Linked DNA regions of Homo sapiens: all the other regions are linked to region 3. Evidence: promoter capture Hi-C in 16 types of primary human blood cells and fetal thymus (Javierre and others, 2016). All regions are on one chromosome and are shown on one strand. Each heading gives the region's core, a stretch centred on a gene start or on the middle of the fragment in contact. The rest is flanking DNA. Distances are from core to core; before and after follow the strand shown. Region 1 overlaps ARID5B (AT-rich interaction domain 5B). Region 2 has its middle 150 kb from the start of LINC02621. Region 3 holds the start of ARID5B (AT-rich interaction domain 5B).

What was found. The method cuts DNA at HindIII sites, captures the fragments that hold promoters and counts their contacts. A CHiCAGO score of 5 or more calls a contact.
Region 1: a fragment that was not itself captured here is called in contact with the fragment with the promoter of ARID5B in region 3 in 3 of 17 cell types (activated CD4 T cells, non-activated CD4 T cells and naive CD4 T cells); the score reaches 8.2 in activated CD4 T cells.
Region 2: a contact is called between a fragment that was not itself captured here and the fragment with the promoter of ARID5B in region 3, in 1 of 17 cell types (total B cells). The highest score is 6.2, in total B cells.

What each region holds. Positions count from the first base shown.
Region 1 is chr10:62,070,252-62,074,861 of GRCh38, reverse strand. All of the region lies in intron 8 of ARID5B (AT-rich interaction domain 5B), which reads right to left. Among named protein-coding and RNA genes, the nearest start is that of ARID5B, 170 kb to the right of the region's middle. RefSeq lists an enhancer at 2,746-2,885. The HindIII fragment of the contact is 2,064 bases long and covers 1,089-3,152 here.
Region 2 is chr10:62,108,184-62,112,470 of GRCh38, reverse strand. No RefSeq gene overlaps it. Among named protein-coding and RNA genes, the nearest start is that of LINC02621, 150 kb to the left of the region's middle. RefSeq lists enhancers at 2,570-2,639, 2,670-2,719. The HindIII fragment of the contact is 2,699 bases long and covers 1-2,692 here.
Region 3 is chr10:61,898,852-61,903,250 of GRCh38, reverse strand. ARID5B (AT-rich interaction domain 5B) reads right to left here and starts at 1,552. Exons shown (of 10, transcript NM_032199.3): 1 at 1,521-1,552; 2 at 838-1,092. The coding sequence starts at 1,541. RefSeq lists silencers at 1-120, 2,861-3,030 and an enhancer at 1,360-1,862. The HindIII fragment of the contact is 3,094 bases long and covers 768-3,861 here.

The DNA.
Region 1 (4,610 bases), core at 871-3,370, 170 kb before region 3:
TCGCAATTGCTGTGCTTATTAGCTTGTTATGGGCTAGTAGAAAACAGTTCATGGACAAGTCAGAAAATCTCATTTGAGTAGCACTGGTCTAGGGAGTTGCTAGGGGTCCTCTTAAATATACAATTCTGAGATGTGGCCTGTGACTTTCTGAATTGCGTATCTATTAACTCCAAGGGTGTCCAAATGAGCAAGAATACATGGAATCATGTCCTTGATGTGCACAGAACTGTAACTCACCTTTCCTTCCCCAGCCTTTATCCATGGTATGATTAGGTGGGTTCCTTAGAACCTGATATATTTTTGGTCCTTAACTTAAAGCACATGCTTATCTTATTCAAAACATGAAGCCTCCCACACTCTACCTTATACCTTCAGAGAAAAAAGGCAGAAGCTCCAGCTATCACCCAGTATCTGCCCAAGTACATCTGGCTTGGGTACAGCTCACCTTAAGTCCCTGCAAAGAAAGCTGCCTCAGCCATGCAGGGTGACAATCTTGTCCAAGGAATGCTTATGGTAAAAGCAAAAGGTTGGATTTGAAATTAGGCATTATGTGTGCAAGAAGATGAAGAATAGTTGCTAATTTCCCTCACAAACAAATACATTTGTTTATGATTTTGATTTTCTAAATACTCAAAAATGCACATCATAAAGTACTTTTGCTTTAATGCTCCTTTTAAAATCCCTAATAACAACTTCATGTGCTCCACAGAAACAGACCATGTAATTTATTCAGGAAAATTAAAACCAGTAATCTAGCATTCTGAGTAAAGATTTTTTTCCCCCTGCATGGACTTTAAAAACATTTTTTAAAAAGGGAAATCTGCATGTGAAAACAAAGCCTTTAAAGTGATTTACTATTCCAGAAAATCAAGCTAAGAGAATTCCATAAAAGTAGTCGTTTTCCTTTTTGTTCCTTTACTGATAAAAATAAAGTGAACTGGTTACTTTTAAGTAAAGAGTTAGACAAGAAAGAAAATGTTCCACTTAGAAAGAATGAGGTGGGTATTTTTCTTTGCATCAAAAGCTACAGTAACTTCATCTATAAATCCTGAGCAAGAAATGTCCAGAATAACCACATTTCATAAGCTTTGCTGAGTTTGAGACATCTACATAGCAACAGCCTTGCGATGGGAAAACATTAATGCTTTTTATATTGGTAATCATCTGTAACATGAGCAATTAAGTACAGTACTAATGGACTATGGCCAGGAGCCTGGTACTAATATTAAAAACTGACAGAGATGAATAGATTTGGAAGCAAAACCCGGCTGACAAAGACATTTTTATGAAGTGCTTGGACCTATTTGATTTAAACCAATCAGAGGCAAGTTTGTACGAGTCAGGCCTTCAGTGACAATGATGTATTCACAAGCATTGTACCATTTCTGCTTTGCCTTAAATAAAAACACCCATTGATTCTTTTCAACAACCCACACTTTCATTATTGCACTCATTAATAAACCAAAAGTGCTCAACTAATATACAAGTAACATTTTACTGAGGAACTGGCTACATTTTTCTTGTTGTAAAATGAAAACGTTTACTGGAAACATGAACCACAGTGCATGAAAAATAAATCAGTGGATAATGCATAGAGATCACTCACTTCTTCATCTTCTAGGAAAGCAAAGCTGGTGGCAGGGAAATAGGAAAAAGAGCAGTTCTCTTTATCGGAGTGAAAAGAATGAGAACAGAAGAACCCGCAGCCTAGTAGGAAGAGCTCTCATCATCCTGATTTGGTTTGGAAGGCTTTACAAAATTCCAAGGGCATTTCCAGACTAGATATTTGCCCACAAAGTCCTGACCATTCTCAACTCATTGACCCTTCTTGAAAACAGTGTTCCTTCACCAATCCAGTCATCTCTGTTTTATCTGTTCATGCAACCTGTGACTAGCAAGAATGAATGAAATCCACCATAATCATGAAGTTTTAGCCCAGAGCTTCAGTCTCTTCTTGGATATATGTGCATGTCCTCTGCCCTTCTTTGGTAGAACCAATTAAAAGGAAGACATCTAGAACGGTAATCCTAGCTTTTTCTCCCCACCACAACACATAGGATTATGGGTGATTCCTCTTGGAGAATGATTGATTGAACATTGAGAGAGGCACTGTTGTAAATAAAATCAATGATCTTCAAATTTTGGTAGTTAGCGGTTGCATCTGATCACAAGGATGTGAGAGGAGTCTAGATGGCAAAAAGGAAATACCAAGGAAAGGTAAAGGACCTTGCTAATCACCCTGGGACAGCTATGCTCCAACAACACAGTTGGAGGCTCCACACTGCCAATTTTTGGTGTTGCCACACATAAAATGGGCTCTGCATATGGGGTTCCCACTTGGCGGATGGCCTATTGTCTTTCAACTCCAAATCCACCCTTCTGTACTCTGCTTGCTGATGCTAGGACTGGAATTCTGTAAATTACACATCCCTTTTGTCAGCTATCTTCCTGTTACTATTCTGCAAACAGTGTGTCCTGGGAGGCAGGGAGAGAAAAGGAATCTCCTTTCCATTTCACTTGTTCACATAAGTGTCAACTCCACAATGCATTAACAGCAGCAGTGGGTTGCAGCCTCTAGTTTCAACAGTCCCCCAGCAGTTTCAGCGCGTGTCCTCTGAGGTCTGGCAGCAGCCAGGGAGCACCGCCTCCTCAGGTTTCAGCCCAGCTCTGCAGTGCTCCACCTCTGAGCTCCCGAAGCATCAGTGCTGGTTGGGTGACTCCTTCTTACCAGGGACCTGAACCCCAGCTCTGAGGCACATTCTCCAAACTTCTGGGTGGTGACAACCAACCTCTCTTCTCTGTTCTGTCACCCTAGGGAACTTACAGTTGTTGCCCCCGTGTTAACTTAGTGCCTCACACCAACCCCTGTTTAAGCAACTGCCTATGGTGAAGTCTCTTTGTTGAATACCCAGTGTGGTTTCCATTTTCCTTACTGCACCCTGACTCATACACTGACCAAATTCTGGATTTGGAAAAGTGACACCACTCTTCAAAAAGTTTAATCGAGTGAGAAAGCAAACCTTTATGGAATATCCAATCTGGTCCCAAGAATAGGGAGAGAAGAGAAAAATTTTAAGACATCTTTAATCATGTTTCTTAATTGCTAAAGTTTGTGGTATATCTACTAAAATTTTCTAATGTGATTGAAAGCTTTCAGGAATCTCCTGAAAGAAGTAAATAATCAAAAGTACACAATCTTCAGAAGAATCCTACTTTTATTCACAGACCTGCTCAATCACACACACACACACTACTATGGGTTGAGTCCTTCTCTCCATGCCAAACCTTCTCTCTTTTTTTTTTTTTTACCATGTGATACTTTGTAATTAATTTGATTGATGTTTTCATTCTTTAACTAGATGAGCTAACAGCTGAGATACACTCCTTTTTCAAGCTTTAATTGCTATCTGCTCCTTTATGTTTGATGGTTCAGGTGTTGAGGGCATTTGCATATAAAGGACAGGGATGTCCACTCTCAAAACAGAATCTATTTGAAAACAGGGACAGAGTTTCTAGTAAAAATGTTCTGGCTGGGTGTGGTGGCTCACGCCTGTAATCCCAGCACTTTGGGAGGCCGAAGTGGGTGGATCATGAGGTCAAGAGATCGAGACCATCCTGGCCAACATGGTGAAACCCCGTCTCTACTAAAAATACAAAAATTAGCTGGGCGTGGTAGCACGTGCCTGTAGTCCCAGTTACTTGGGAGACTGAGTCAGGAGAATCGCTTGAACCTGGGAGGCAGAGGTTGCAGTGGGCCGAGATCATGCCACTGCACTGTAGCCTGGTGACAGAGGAAGACTCCGTCTCAAAAAAAAAAAAAAAAAAAAAAAAGTTCTGAATGAAGCCTTGACTCATAAGTCAAAAACAAGTAGCCTGTGGTTCCTTAGACATTATTTTCGGAACACTCACCTGAGATATCAGTGCTACTTTGTACTAGGACATCAGTGGTGTACCTTATACATACAGTGAGAATGGGTGAGTTTTTGTATTAAACACTGACAGAAATAACATATTTTAAAAATTGATGTGTTGTATTGAAAAACAATGCTATAAAGAGTAATAATTTGAACATCTATTATCAATTTTTAAAAATCCTTCTGAATTACAACCCTGCCAAGTAAGGCAATCCTTTGGGAATACTTTGTAGCAATTTTTCATGGTGTACTAAACCCAATTCAATTTATTATTACAAAAACATTCTTGTTGAACGGCCATACTAAAGCTGAGTTAAATGCAATACAGATAAAAGTAAAATTGAACTTGGAAAAAAAGGACTAAGAATTGATGAGTTAAATGGTATTGCCTGAGGATGTACGTATAAGACCCAAAGGGAAATGCCAGTTATAAGGAAGTTGGTAATGACCTAAACAAATTAAGTATGGGCTTGAAGCATAGAGGGATAATGCATTAATCTGCTAACTGGTCTTTAACGGTGTGAATAATGGAGTCCTAATGCAAACGGGAAATCCACTCCTGTGGATGCAACATAGTAGGCTAATTTTGCATTACTTCTTGTTTGCATCCTCATCATCTTTCTGAAATAGGCTGAAATTGTTAGAAAACCAAGCCACACAGAGCTTGGTAAGAAGATTCCGTAGAAGAAAAATACC
Region 2 (4,287 bases), core at 94-2,593, 210 kb before region 3:
TAGGTTTAGCCAGAATCTGCCTTACCCCTTGTTTACCCTTATAAAATGTTTACTGTTAGTAATTTTCCATCCACTGACCCTACCCTGCCCCTTGGCTATAAATCTCTACTTTTCATTGTTGTATTCAGAGTTGAGGCCAATCTCTCCCCCCTGGCAAAATTCCATTGTAGTAGTCTCCCTTGAATAGTCTGGCTTACTGTCTTTAACAAATGTCATGAATATATATATATATATATATATTTTTTTGAGATGGAGTCTCGCTCTGTCGCCCAGGCTGGAGTGCAGTGGCGCAATCTCGGCTCACTGCAACCTCCACCTCCCAGGTTCCCGCCATTCTCCTGCCTCAGCCTGCCGAGTAGCTGGGACTACAGGCGACCGCCACCACGCCCGGCTAATTTTTTGTATTTTTAGTAGAGATGGGGTTTCACCGTGTTAGCCAGGATGGTCTCGATCTCCTGACCTCATGATCTGCCCGCCTCGACCTCCCAAAGTGCTGGGATTACAGGTGTGAGCCACTGCGCCTGGCCAATATTTTTTTTTTAATAGGGATTGAAACCTGGGTCTGTCTGACTTTGTGGACACTGTCACACTCACCAGTATTTTTGAAAAAAGAGTTCTAAAAATTTTGGACTTGAATCTCCAGTAAACTACAGATATCCTTTAAAACAAACACATTTCATACATGAAGGTGCACAGCATAATTGGTTAAAAGAAGTTACTGTGGTATCAGACTACCTAGCTCCAAGTCCCAGCTCTGCAACTCACAAGCTGGGCAAATCACTTACTTGGCAGTGCCTCTGTTCCTTCGTCTGTAAAATGGGGAAAATATCAGTATGTACCTCATAAAGTTGTCATGAAAATTAAATGAGTTCATACATGTGAGCACTTTGAACAATGTCTAAGTACCAGCAAGCACTGTTACGTATACACTATTATTGTTATGCACGCAATATATCATATTCATTGTAAAGAAAACCCTATCCCCACTTAAAAAAATCAAAAAGATGAGATAAAAAGTAGATTAAACAGAAATGCATTATATTCTGCCTGTCTTCCTGGACTGGCTTGCACAGCTCCTGGCTTCCTTATTTTCTCCTTTGGCCACTGTGGGGATTGACTGTACCCACTTTGAATATTCCAATGGGCCATGTAGACCCATAGTGTGAGCCCATTAAGATCATAGACTGGGGATATTGTTCAGGAACCAAGAGGCTCAAAGAAACAAGTTTGCACTGAGAATGAGTCTGAGTACCCAAAGATCAGGCCGGAGTCCTGCCAGGAGAGGGGCAAGGCTGGCACTTCATTTCAGCTAAGCACAAAGTTTACATCGCATTGAGGACTTTCCCTGACCCATCTCTTTTCAAGTAGCTCCCTCATTCCCAGTCAGTCTATTCCATCACTTAGTTGTATTTTCTTCTTCACTGCTTCTCTGAAATTGTCCAATTTCTTTGTTTGTGTGTTTATTTTCTGTCTCCTTCATCAAGATATAGGATGCCATCTATTTCTTTCATAGTAGTATTTCCGGTGGTTAAACCAGTTCCTGGTACAGGGTTGGTGCTCCATAGATATTTATAGGATTAATGAGAAATTTAACCTTCTCTTATCGCCCCAGGGACTGCAAGAAGCTAATAAATAGAAGTTAAGGAACTTGAGAGCTTACCTAGGTAGCTCCTCCCCTATTGCCCGCCCCCTTCCTCATACTCCCAATTGATAAATGAGAAAATTGAAATTTGGAGGTTAGGAGACCATCCAAGAACATACACAGAGCAGGACCGAGGGCTCCTGACTCTTTATTTGACATCCAGGGGCTACATTGTGATGCCTTTTCTTTGCGGGAGGGAATAGGAGAATGCAGAAATTTTCTTTGTGTCTAAAATAGATTAGAAGGTGTAAAATCCAGGCCCTATCTTCTATCCACTGTGAGTCAGAACAAACTGTGTCTGCCTTCCATGGTTTTGAAATAATTTTGATCTAGGAAAGAAGGAAAAAGGAAAAAAGGAAGGGAGGGAGGAAAAGCAGAAAAAGGAACAAGGAAGACGAGAAGGGAAATGTTAATGAGGATATTTCTTTCCTTTTTGGTGTTGGGAATTCTCTGGAGGGTTTCCAGCCCTGGGCTAAAGGATACCTTCTTCTCTCATTCTTCTGGGCCACAGTTGCATTCGGCCTGAGGTTTCTATGGGAGACTAGATTTCAGGTCTATTTAAAGAGACAAGATGATTTGCCTACTACACCTTTTTGTTGAAATTTCTCAATCTTTTCCCATACTCTACTTCTTCTGAATTACATTTTGCCTCCTCTTGCTTTATTTGTATTCCAGCTAAGCCTCACTTCCTCAATGTCCTTCCACATTCTCAACAAAGTTGTATCAGATATTTATTGAGCTGGAACTTATTATATACAGTTACTTTCACTTCCCCTTTCTATGGATACTGCAGACATCTGTTTGAGTAGCTTTATTAGCCCTATTTTTTTACTTATGGAGACAAGGACCCAGAAAAGTTAAGTGATAACTTACCCTGGTATATAAGTCACAGTACTAGAATTTGAAGCCAAATCATGCAATTCCAAAGCCCATGCACTTTCTGTTATATCAGAGCCACTTCCTCTTAACACCATGTTAACCATTTAATAGCAGATTTGGCTGCAAATGACAGAACATCCCATTAATAGCACCTTAAACAAATGGGAAGCTTATTTTTCTCACATAATGAAACATGTAGATGAGCATCATCAGGCCTAGTGTAGTGGCCCAGGGATGTCAGGGGAGACTCAGCTTTGCTCTGTTCCACTGTGCCCTCCTTAGCATGTTACTTTCACCCTCAGACATGTTGCCACTGGTTGTAAGATGGCGACTCCACCTGCAGCCTCATGGCCACATTCCCAAAAGAAGAAAAACAGGGAAGGAGCAAAAGGCCAAAAGAACATGCCAGTTGGATTTGTCCTTTTTAAAGGTCTTTTTTAGGAGTCTCACAGATACTTCTGCTTTTATTTCTTTGCCCAAATGGTGTTGTGGGGGAGCCCCTTGCTGTATGGATAAAGAAGAGATGAGTTGGAGATTGGGTCAGCCAACCAACAACACCTGCTTCATCTTACTTGGCTGAAATTCTTTACCTCTTTACTTTCACATGGCTGCCTAATTGTTTTCTGAGACTCTTCAGAAGCATCCAGCAGTTCTGTAAGTGTAGAAACTGGTTTTACCATCTCTTGCACCCTGCCTGAGGCTAAGCTGGCCTCAAGGAATGACCAGTAAAGATTGACTGGAAAGAACTTCCCAAGAAGGCCATGGGAGAGGAAGAGCTTAGGAGATGGGTGACAGATGGGAGAAAACTCAGCCAGGATCATAGGACACATTCCTGGGGTCCTGCAGGTCCTGGAGTCATGCAGCTGAAGGCTGCTGCATGGTTAGGCCCCTGGGACATGCAGGGTTCATAAGAAGGTAGGAGGGATATAAGCCATCTCAGTCTGCCCAACTAAGCAGAGGGGAGGAAAAGCATGAGGTGAGCCTGTATCTGTTTTTGCCATCTCACTCCACTTTATCTATAGAGAGGAAATGCTTGCACAAATCATAATGACATTCTCTTTTAAGCCTGATTTCCTTTCATTCATTTTAACTCTCTTGATGCTGAAGCCAAGCTCTCTGATGGCTACATATGGGGGAACCATTATTATGGGTGGCAAGTGGGGGGATCTGTGAGCTGATGGAAAGTCTCCTGCTCTAGAAATAGCTCTTCCTGGGACCCTAGCAGTGTTGGACAGGCCACCATTTGAACTTAAATCTTTTTGGTCAAAACATTATCTGGTATCTTTTTCTTTATTGCTGCCTCTTCCACACTTTTTTTTTCTCTAGAGGCAGGATCTTGCTATGTTGCCCAGGCTGGAGTGCAGTGGCTATTCACAGGCATGTACTACAGTCTTAAACTCCTGGCCACAAGCCTTAGCCTCCTCTGTAGCTGGAACTACAGGTATGCGCAACCACGCCTGGCTCTCCCACTTTTTATTTTATTTTATTTTTTATTTTTATTTTTTACTTTTATTTTTTATAAACTATAGACATTTAAAGAAGAAAAAGTCTGGGTGCAGTGGCTCACGCCTGTAATCCCAACACTTTGGGATGCTGAGGCAGGTGAATCACTTGAGCTCAGAAATTTGAGACCAGACTGGGCAACATGGTGAAACCCCCGCTCTAAAAAAAAAATACAAAAAATTAGCCAGGCGTGGTGGTATGCACCTGTAGTTCTCAGCTGGAGGCTGAGGTGGGAAGATCCCTTGAGCCTGGGAAGTTGAGGC
Region 3 (4,399 bases), core at 303-2,802:
TCTGGGCACGGAGAACGCTGGACCCGCAGGGCCAGTGGGCGAGCACACACCCCTCTGCCCTCCCCTCCCCCGCCCCCGTCCCACACACCCCCAAAGATCGCGCAGGAGGACGTCCACTTTGCGTGGAGTAATTGCAAACTAGAACATCAAATGGCTTGTCCGGGGGGAGGGGGAGTGGGCGAGAGATAGTTGTTAATGCTTAACGTGTTTGTGCCTGTTACACCACCGCTTTGAAATCCGCCCGGGCAGATCTGCAAGTTATTTGAATGTATTATTCCAGTACCTGTCATTTATCACTTTATTCAACACGTCTTTGCCAACTCAATAGCTTTTGATCTCATTCTGCCTCCATTTCGTAATTTCCGCCCTCTTAAACATATCAAATACTTACTTTGAAAAAAGAACAATATCGAAACCCACCGAAAGAAATCCACCCAGACACGACCGAGCCAGACACGAAGGTAAATTTTCAAAAGGCAAAAAATATAAAAAGCATGTGATGTTCAAGAGGCAATAGCAGGAGAGCAAATGAACACACACACACACATACACACACACACACACACACACACACACATCCTTGAACAAAACCCTTCTCGAACAAGTTATTTGATCTTGACTAAAATCAGCAGTTGGATCCTCTTTGTAAAGCTGACAGCCAAACTCTGACAATGGCAAAATACTCGAGCCCCAGCTAGTGGCGCTACCCCTTTAAAAAAGGAGTCGATCCTGCTTGCCTGCAGAAGTGAATACAGTATTTTCAAGCTTGCCCTGTAATAAGCATTACTAGGGGGAAAAATAATAAAGAAAGAAGAGGGGGACAGACAGGTTTACCACCTCGCCATGGTCGCTATTTCTGCCCTGGGGAGTGTCTTCTGGGAGGAAATAAAGTTTAGAGCTGGATAAAAGTTGCCGGCTGGTCCTCTCTTCCCACAACAGCTGGAGCTCCGCTATGCAAATCGGATCCTTTGGCGTACATCTTACAAAGAAAAAGTCGCCAAGGGACAAAATTCTTGGTTTGCCTTCAAGGTGGAATTGAAAAGCCTTGTAGAAAATGTAAGGTCCGTGCAAGCCACACGGTGAGCCGACCCACTGCAGGGGGGGAAAAAAACACCAAATAAATAATGTAGCCATCAGAGCACAAACATCTATTCCCAGACACATTTACACACAGACATCCACTCTCTTAATACAGACGACCCAACAGATATAACGCTGGGTGGAAAAATAATAGCACCCACAAATTTTCTGCTTCCCTAAAAAAAAAAAAAAAAAAACTCAGGGCCCCCCACCGCCACTTCTACCCACCTCCCCATTTGAGGCGGTAAAATTACATTATGTATGTATGATCAGTGCAGGGATTTTTTTAAACAATAAAAATGATTTTGGGGGATGCAGAGGGTAAAAGTTTGGTGAAAAGTTTGTGGGGGGTGTGGGTGGGTGCAGAGGTGTGGGTGAGCTGGGGGGTTGGGGGGTGCCGGGGGGTGCCGGGATCGGAGGAGCGGAGGAGAGCGAAATACCTGGAGTGAGTTGGGCTCCATCTCGACGTTCTGAATTGATTGAACTCAACATTCTCTCCAAACTTGTTGGCTTGAATGGATTGCATCAGGTCCTGGCAGGGAAACGCATTCTCTGCCTTCAGCCGGCGTAATGTCTCAATATAAAACTGAGCTCTTGCCTCCCTTCGGGCACCGAAATGATTGAAAATATGTCCTAATATTTCTATAACGACTCAATTTTCAGCTCCTGAAAAAACTATGTGGGTTTTCTTCCAAAGATGGATTGATCAAATTCATAATCGAGAGAAAGGCGCCATACGATCTCGGCGGGAAGAGGATGGATCAAGGCAAAAAACACACAAGAAGATTTGTAAAAATAAAAAGCACCCTAAAACTGTGTGGAGATGTGATTCCTCTCTCTCTAACCGCTCCTGTCTGGGATATCGTCTGATGAGATTTTTGGAGGAGAGGAGGGGTAGCGAGCTCCACTGTGCATCTGACAGGACCTGCTTGTATATGTCTAATATAAAGAACATTTCCTGCAGAGATTCCGGGGCGCTGCTCCTCTTTCTAATGCTTCTTAGCAGATTTGCTGTTATTAGACATGTAGATTTGTTTGATAGTTAAATTACGCTTCCTCACTGCCATGTTTTCGAGAACTAATCTGTTAAATTATCTTTTGATGCCTATTTACATGGAAGGGAAAAGTGGGTTATCGATTATATAAACATATAAATATTAATGCATTTGTTCGCTTCGCAAAAAAATACTCAGCAAAAAAAAAAGAGACAAGTGAGCAGTGCACACACATCTTAGGATTTCGCAAACAATATTGAACGGACAGCGACTGCATTTAGGGACTGGAACAATAAACGATGCATGATAAATCAATAAATGCGAGAAGCGAGTCTGCTCAGAATATGAATTCAGGCTCCCGGTTCTGCGTGTGCATTCTTTAATTTTGAAGTATATACACTAGTACGTGTTTACAATGCTGATGGACGCCAAGGGCGCTCTCAAATGATAATGTGTTTATATAACCCAGCGCTACAGGAATAATATACCGACTCCTACCCCACCCCCATCCCCTCCCCCGCCAAAAAAGGGAGGGGAGCTTCCTCAATAATAGTTTGAAACTGAAAAAATCCATTTGCAAACTAGTTAAATACAACCAGAAATTAAGCTGTTGAAAACCGGGGGCATGAACCGTAAGACAATAAAGGCTTTAAATGTGTATATTTATTGTTCTGGAGCCCTGGAGCATTGCGAGGTTTGCATGCACGGCTATTATGCAAACACAGAGAAACTTAAGAGCGACAGAACAAGGAACAGGCAGAGACTGCAAAGCCCTCGCAAGCTCCGACCCAGCTGCCGGTCCTCCGCCAGGCTAGATTGCATTTTCGCAGTGTTGATTTAAAATGGTGTACTCGCTTCCCCCACGTTCCCCCACCCCCTTCCCCGCTCTCCTCCCACTCCTTCCAGCACACCCCCCCTCCAGCTTTTATTATATTGGCACCAATCTTTCCAAAGTGGGTCTGGCATGCTAAAAAAGTAAACATGTACTATATGGGGAATAAGGTCTGTATAGTATGACAGTTGAAACTTGATCTGTGATAAAATTACAGGATGTTGAAATTACTAGTAAGCTATTTTTAACGCTTTCGCAACGTTTCACCTCTAGTCACAGCATCTAGTTGAAACAGGATTACTTTAATGAAAATTATATTCACATGGCTGAAGTTAATACACCCGGCAGAGCACAAATGCCTCATATTCAGTGACTTGAGGTGGAAAGACCCTCTGTGTGTATTTTTATGCCTTTTCATAACGTCTGCGTCCGCTGCAGTAAGAATTAGGGCACTTAACATTATCTAAACCACATTTTTGATTCAGAATATGGGGAAGTAATAAAAGGCAAAATCTATCTCGTTTCTATACACACAGAGATAAACGAAAGAAAATGGCAGATCCTCTAATTACAATAAATAATAAAAGCCCATGCCAAAGAGCCGGTATTCTGAAAGCTGTCGAAAACTATTTTAATAATTTAAAGTAATATCACAACTCTGCACCATGGAGGACTACAATTCGCAGTCTCCCATCTTTAACATTAGCCAAATTATGACTTGCACATCACTCTTTAATTATCTCTTGAAATTTCATCTGATCTTTCTATTTTATAAACATGGGTTACAAAGAGAAATTATAGCTCTCCTGCGCTTTCTCTCTCTCTTTTTAACTTTATAATGCATACTGCAGACGTTTGATTAGAATCGCCCATTTTGTTCATTTTTAACATATGAATGGACTTGACTGAGGGGCATTTTACATGTCTTTTTTAAAAATAGATATGCCTAAAGCTTCTGTTAGTCTCTGTCGTGTTAGCGTAAATATATACATCCAGTTCAAGAAATCCTATATTAAAAAAACTTGAGTTGCAGTATTTTGACAAGATCGTATTTGAGATCGACTCTGAGTCAGTTTCCTGTATGACCAATGCAGCAGCATTTATGCAGGAAACCTCAACAGAATGCCTGAGGGTATCCCTCAATTGTATATTAAATCTCTTTCTTAAAAAATTATACAGCTCTTTACAGCATCTAAGCTACTTCTACTGTCTTTGGTGCTGTAAGTCTTTAAGTGTGTAACGAACTTCATCTAATTAGAAACCCTGTTTCTTCAGCTCTTCAAGGTAGGCACTGAACTAGGATGCATGCTGCCTTATCTCTCCGATAAGGTTTCTGAGATGTTAACAATTGCAGGGATCTGGGTCTGAATATTTTTGAATATCCGCAGCCTTGTAATCAGATGAATGCTAAATTTCAAAACCGAATCACAGGGGTATCTTTCCCCCTCTTTTTACAGCACTGCCCCCACCCCCCGTGAACATAATAAATCTA